Regions from separate parts of the Homo sapiens genome. Here region 1 is linked to region 2. Evidence: promoter capture Hi-C in human tissues and cell types (Jung and others, 2019). All regions are on one chromosome and are shown on one strand. Each heading gives the region's core, a stretch centred on a gene start or on the middle of the fragment in contact. The rest is flanking DNA. Distances are from core to core; before and after follow the strand shown. Region 1 overlaps COL6A3 (collagen type VI alpha 3 chain). Region 2 holds the start of COL6A3 (collagen type VI alpha 3 chain).

Region 1 (3,027 bases), core at 1-2,500, 60 kb after region 2:
CACCCGGATGAGGGTGGAGGAAGGGTGTCTGTGTGTGCGAGTTTCCCCAGGGCTGATGAGGTGTGGTTTCTGGTTCTTGGCACGATGTGGGTGCTTGGGAAGATTCCCCTGAGTAACCGCAGAATAAGAGGGTGAAGTCTGAAAGAGCTCTAGGCCCCATGCCCAGCGTCCCATGCTCCCCCTCACAGTTTGTGGGACTTTTTCTTCCACAGGGTGGCTTTGGCCGAAGGGGACCCCCCGGAGCTAAGGTGAGCCTCATGCAGTGCCCCCTGGAGACTCTCTTCAAACAGCCCAGATGCCGCCCAGCCCAGGAGTGAAAAACACTCTCTCCTGTGAACCCAAAGCTTCGGAGACAGATACCAATCAATTTAGAAAGTTGATTTCGCCAAGGTTAAAGACATGCCCGTGACACAGCCTCAGAAGGCCCTGATGACACCTGCCCAAGGTGTTCGGGGCACAGCTTGGTTTTACACATTTTAGGGAGACATGAGACATCAATCAATATGTGTGAGATGTACATTGGTTCGGTCCAGAAAGGTGGGACAACTCGAGGCAGGGGAGGAGGCTTCCAGGTCATAGGTAGATAAGAGACAAAAGGTTGCATTCTTTTGAGTCTCTGATTAGCCTTTCACTGAATACACAGTTTACCAGAACAGTCACCTATGCCTTAGTTAGGCTTAGTGAAAAACAGGGCGAAGGAAGCAATTGGATATGCCTTTGTCTCCCATGAGCAGAGGGATGACTTTCAGTTCTGTCTGTCCTTTGTCCACAAGGAATTTCCCTGTGGGCAGAATGTGAGGGAGGTATTCAGCTTAAAAAAAAAAAAATCTGGCCAGGACGGTGGCTGATGCCTGTAATCCCAGCACTCTGGGAGGCTGAGACAGGCGGATCACCTGAGGTTGGGAGTTCGAGACTAGCCTGACCAATATGGAGAAACCCCGTCTCTACTAAAAATACAAAATAGCCAGGCGTGGTGGTGCATGCTTGTAAGCTTGTAATTCCAGCTACTCAGGAGCCTGAGGCAAGAGAATCACTTGAACCCGGGAGGCAGAGGTTGCAGTGAGCCAAGATCATGCCATTGCACTCCAGCCTGGGCAACTAGAGTGAAACTCCATCTCAAAAAAAAAAAAAAAAATTCTTTGTAGCTATCTTATTTAAGAATAGAATGGGAGGCAGCTCTGTCTGATGCAGTTCCCAGCTTGACTTTTCCCTTTGGCTTAGCGATTTTGGGGTTCTGAGATTTATTTTTCTTTCATCCTCCTTGGGCTGTTCTGGCTCCCGAGGCTCTGTCAGCCGTCTCCTTAAACAGCCTCTTCTGCAGAGTCTAGAGAAAATGGTGCCCAGTGGGGACTTGGGGTCCAAGTGCAGGAAACATGACTGAGGCAGTAGTGTCCCGGGCGGGCGCCTCTTCCAGAACGTGCTCACCTATCTGGCCATCAGCAACCCGCAACTTCCCGGTGTCTCGGTCCTCTGCTTTAGGTCTAAATGATCCCTGTTTCACAAAGCTGTCCGAGGAGAGGTGAGGCAAGAGTGAGGAACAATTGTAGAAGTGCAGGGAGACAGCTGGCTCCTGTGCTCAGTGTCTCACCTGGGGTTACCGCTTTGATCATCTGTTACCTCTGGAAGAGCTGAGTTTTCCCTGGTTGCTTTCCAAGTCCCTGGCCCAGAAATGACTGTAGAGCAAAGAGCTGACATTGACAGGAACCATCCTGACTCCTCCCTGCATCTTCTCTTATTTCAAAGGGCAACAAGGGCGGTCCTGGCCAGCCGGGCTTTGAGGGAGAGCAGGGGACCAGAGGTGCACAGGTGAGTGCTTCCGTGTGTGACTGTGTGCCCTCTGATATTTCACAAATCATTTAAAAAATGATTGGGTGGCATTTATATCCGGAAAGTTAACCATTTTAAAGTGAACAATCCAGTGGCATTTGGTACTTCCACAATGCTGTGCAATCATCACCTCTATCTAGGTTCAAAACACAGTCTCGAAGGAGACCTGTACCCATTAGCAGTCACTCCCCATCACCCTCCACCCCGAGTCCCTGGAAACCACTAATCTCTCTCTCTTTATGGATTTGCCCACTATGGATATTTTGTATAAATGGAATCATTTACTAGGCAGCTTTGTGTGTGTGGCTTGACGGAGCATCATGTTCTTGAGCTTCATCCACATTGCAGCATGTAGAAGCACTTCATTCCTTTACATGATGGAAGGATACTCTGTTGTGTGGCTACAGCACACTTTGTTTATCCACTCATTGGTTGATGGAGATTTAGGTTGTTGCCATCTTCTGGCAATTGTGAATGATGCTTCTGTGAAGATTCTCCTACACGTTTTTGTCTGAATGCTTGTTGCTTGTATACATTTTAAGCTCACTTGCCTATTCACGATCTGGATTGAGGCAGCTGCTACTGCAGCTAAGACAGGATAATTGTGGGTTTTGGTGGCCGTTTTTGGCCAGCAGAAGTGAGGTTCCAGGCCCTGTGGGATGGGCAGATGCCATGCAGAGGCTTCTCATGGAAAGTCACCTCATTAGCACTCACGATGGTCTTTTCCTTCCTCAGGGCCCAGCTGGTCCTGCTGGTCCTCCAGGGCTGATAGGAGAACAAGGCATTTCTGGACCTCGGGTAAGCCTGTCCTAATACCAGCCCCCTCTCTAGCTGAACAGAGGGCACATTGCCAAGCAGGCTGAGAGAGTTTCTCGGATGATGCTATTGTAGACAGACCTCCCTTTAGCTCTCCTCTTTGGCAACAAAAACCCCAGATTTAACCTCAGGCCTTGCAGTGACTGGCTACTTCACCCCAAGAAAGTAAGAGTTTCCTTTTTTGGTGCTCCATGGGCCTCTAAGTCTCAATTCTGCTCCTTCCAAGTGTCCCTGGGTGGAAATCAGGGGATATGCCTCAGGATGGAATCCTGGAAAATCTAAATCTACCAAAATGCTTAGATTCTGCAAGGTGTTTCCCCTTTGGTCCCTGGAGATAGCCCCTTGTGCTTATGTATTTTGTATAGTGAGTGCCTCAAGTTCACC
Region 2 (2,847 bases), core at 132-2,631:
GTCTCTTGATATTTCACATTAATGGACTTTTCATAAGGACCACATGATGGGAGAGCAGTGAGAAGTTTGGGGATGGCCAAAGCTGGGTTGTCATTTGAGCTCTGTTACTAACCCAGACTGGACAATGACGATGTCACTTACTCTCTCGGAACTTCTTTTCTTTTCTTCTTTTCTTTTCTTTTTTTCTTTTTTCTCTTCTCTTCTCTTCTCTTCTCTTCTCTTCTCTTCTTTTCTTTTCATTTCTTTTCTTTCTTTCCTTTTTCTCTTTTTTGGAGTCTCACTCTGTTGCCCAGGCTAGAGTGCAGTGGCGCCATCTCGGCTCACTGCAACCTCTGCCTCCTGGGTTCAAGCAATTGTCCTGCCTCAGCCTCCCAAATAGCTGGGACTACAAGCGCCTGCCACCATGCCTGGCTAATTTTTATATTTTTAGTAGAGATTTAGTAGGGGTTTCACCATGTTGGCCAGGCTGGTCTCCAACTCCTGACCTTGTGATCTGCCTGCCTTAGCCTCCCGAAGTGCTGAGATTACAGGCATAAGCCACCGTGCCCAGCCTGTTTCTTTCATCTGTAAAATGGGACCACAATTTCACCTAATAAAAGAAGACATCTTTCTATTTAAAAGGGCTTAGGGTGTTGATGTTTGTGATAAAGGAGAGAATGTATATTGAAGTGTTTTGAAATGTGCAAAGCTTTCTAGAAACAGAAGTTCTTACTCAAGTATTTTCCCGAAGCTTTGGCAAGATAACCATTTTTATTACCCCGTCTGTGCCTAGAATGGGCCTATAAGCGCCACAATCAGAATCATTAGATATAGAAATTAAGAGAAATGTAGCCTCCTTTTTTTTGCCGGTGAACAGAGCTTTGGTTAACAGAAAACCAAGGCGATTTTAATTGCTGGTTTTTCTATTTGAAGGGGGAAGTTATTAGTAGAAGTCTCAATTCAGAAACTTCAAGAAGAAATGGGAGGGTGTGGTGAGGGTAAGCGGGGGACTGCATTTCCTGTTTTCCTTTCAGATGGTGTTGGAAAACATTGCAGGAAAACCATGGATACCCACGAAGAAATTCCAAAATTTATTCTTTTTGACGCCAAGGGCCCAGCCCAAAAGGTGACGAGTAGGAGTGGTCAATTTTTTTTTTTAAGAGTTGGGGCTTGCAGGAGTCCAGCTAAACGCTTGTAGGGTGAAGACAGAATTCAGAGGGTGACATCAGCCTGAGCGGGGGCCAGAAGAAACAGAGTGGAGGAGTCTGGTTTCATTTACAGTTTTGGGTCAGTTCTGCAGTGAGGAGGGGGAGAGGAGGGGTCCGGGAGGGAGGAGGAGGAGGAGGAGGAGCTGGAGGAAGCCCTGACTGGTATCCCTGGCCCCAGTCCAGTTTGGAGCTCAGTCTTCCACCAAAGGCCGTTCAGTTCTCCTGGGCTCCAGCCTCCTGCAAGGACTGCAAGAGTTTTCCTCCGCAGCTCTGAGTCTCCACTTTTTTGGTGGAGAAAGGCTGCAAAAAGAAAAAGAGACGCAGTGAGTGGGAAAAGTATGCATCCTATTCAAACCTAATTGAATCGAGGAGCCCAGGGACACACGCCTTCAGGTTTGCTCAGGGGTAAGTGTGATTTCTCTTCTGTTTTTCCAGGTTTGGGGCTAGAAGGAAATGCTCTTAACCTGAAGTGATCCTTTCTAGGTAGCGTTAGTGGCTCTTACGTTCATGCTGATCGCCAGTTTTCTGTACATGTTTTAGGTCTCTGGAAGATTCCGCTGATTTTTCTTTCTCACTTTATGGCAATGGGATTTCCTTAAATTGGTTAAGGTCATGATTGCCTAAGAGTGTGAGCACTTTTCCACCGCGTGTCTGTGGCTGCTACACGCGCCCTGTGCATTCCGGGCGGCAGTGTGTTTCGGCCCATGATTTATTTAAGTTACTGCCGCCTTCTAAAACCCATTCGGGATCCGCTTTGTTTGCAGAAGCGTCTTTGCTGAGGACTAGCATAGCTCCCTGCCGGGCGGCTCCGCTGGGAGATGTTCTCTGAGCTCTCTGGGTGGTGACACTAGGTCAGGGTGCAACAACCTGCATGGGTTTTCTGCCCAGGGCCGCCCATGGGAAGGTCCTGGTGGAGCACATTTGCTGCTTTCACAAGATTGGAGTAACTCTGGTGCTCAGGATCAGGGCCAAGTAAAGGGTCGCTCAGTCATTGCCGTCAAGCTTTCGTCTTTCCAGGAACCTGAAGTCTCTATTGGAGACTTTGTCCCTTGGGGTTGCTTAAAGGAGTTGCAGGGGTCAGAGGAGAAGAAGGAATTGGGCATTTGGGCAGCATGCTGAGTGTCTAAGGCAGGGCCCCTGGGGCTGCAGGGCCAGCCCATGCTGCACAGAGGTGAGGCCAGTGCCGAGCTGGGAGGCCCCGAGGGCTGTTCTCTGGCCCGGAGGATGCAGGGTGGGGCTCGGGCCCTCTCTTGCTGAGGATGGACACGTTCGCTGACAGTGGCCAGCCTGTTTGGGGAACCTGTTTCAAGGGGCCTACTATGTTGGATAATGAACGGGTATTGAAGTATGGGTGGGGTCACTGGGAGGGACTAGGGAGTGGTTAAAGAAAAATCTGCTTCCACAGGAAGCCCCAGGAGCCAGTTTCGAGGCCGGTGCAGACCCCAGGAGCAAACCCCTCTGAGCACAGGGGAGTCTGCTGTGCTGGATGGGGAGGCAGGGCTGTGGCCCCGGCTGACTGGCTTCTCTCCCCACATACAGCTCACCCCGGCGAGGACCACAGGGTGCTAGAGCTGCAGGGTGCTCAGAGCTCACGGGGATGGTGGATGCTCAACCTGGGATCCCCCAGCTCCCCAGGGTCCCATTCTTAATGCTGTAAAAA

Evidence for each region. Contacts are between HindIII fragments. The study calls those that stand out against the background at their distance.
Region 1: a contact is called between a fragment that was not itself captured here and the fragment with the promoter of COL6A3 in region 2, in 1 of the 25 tissues and cell types used here (mesenchymal stem cells).

Annotation. Positions count from the first base shown.
Region 1 is chr2:237,352,120-237,355,146 of GRCh38, reverse strand. COL6A3 (collagen type VI alpha 3 chain) reads left to right here. Exons shown (of 44, transcript NM_004369.4): 24 at 213-248; 25 at 1,744-1,806; 26 at 2,563-2,625. Among named protein-coding and RNA genes, the nearest start is that of COL6A3, 61 kb to the left of the region's middle. The HindIII fragment of the contact is 3,760 bases long and covers 1-3,027 here.
Region 2 is chr2:237,412,698-237,415,544 of GRCh38, reverse strand. It overlaps COL6A3 (collagen type VI alpha 3 chain), which reads left to right and starts at 1,381. Exons shown (of 44, transcript NM_004369.4): 1 at 1,381-1,592. The HindIII fragment of the contact is 4,662 bases long and covers 1-2,847 here.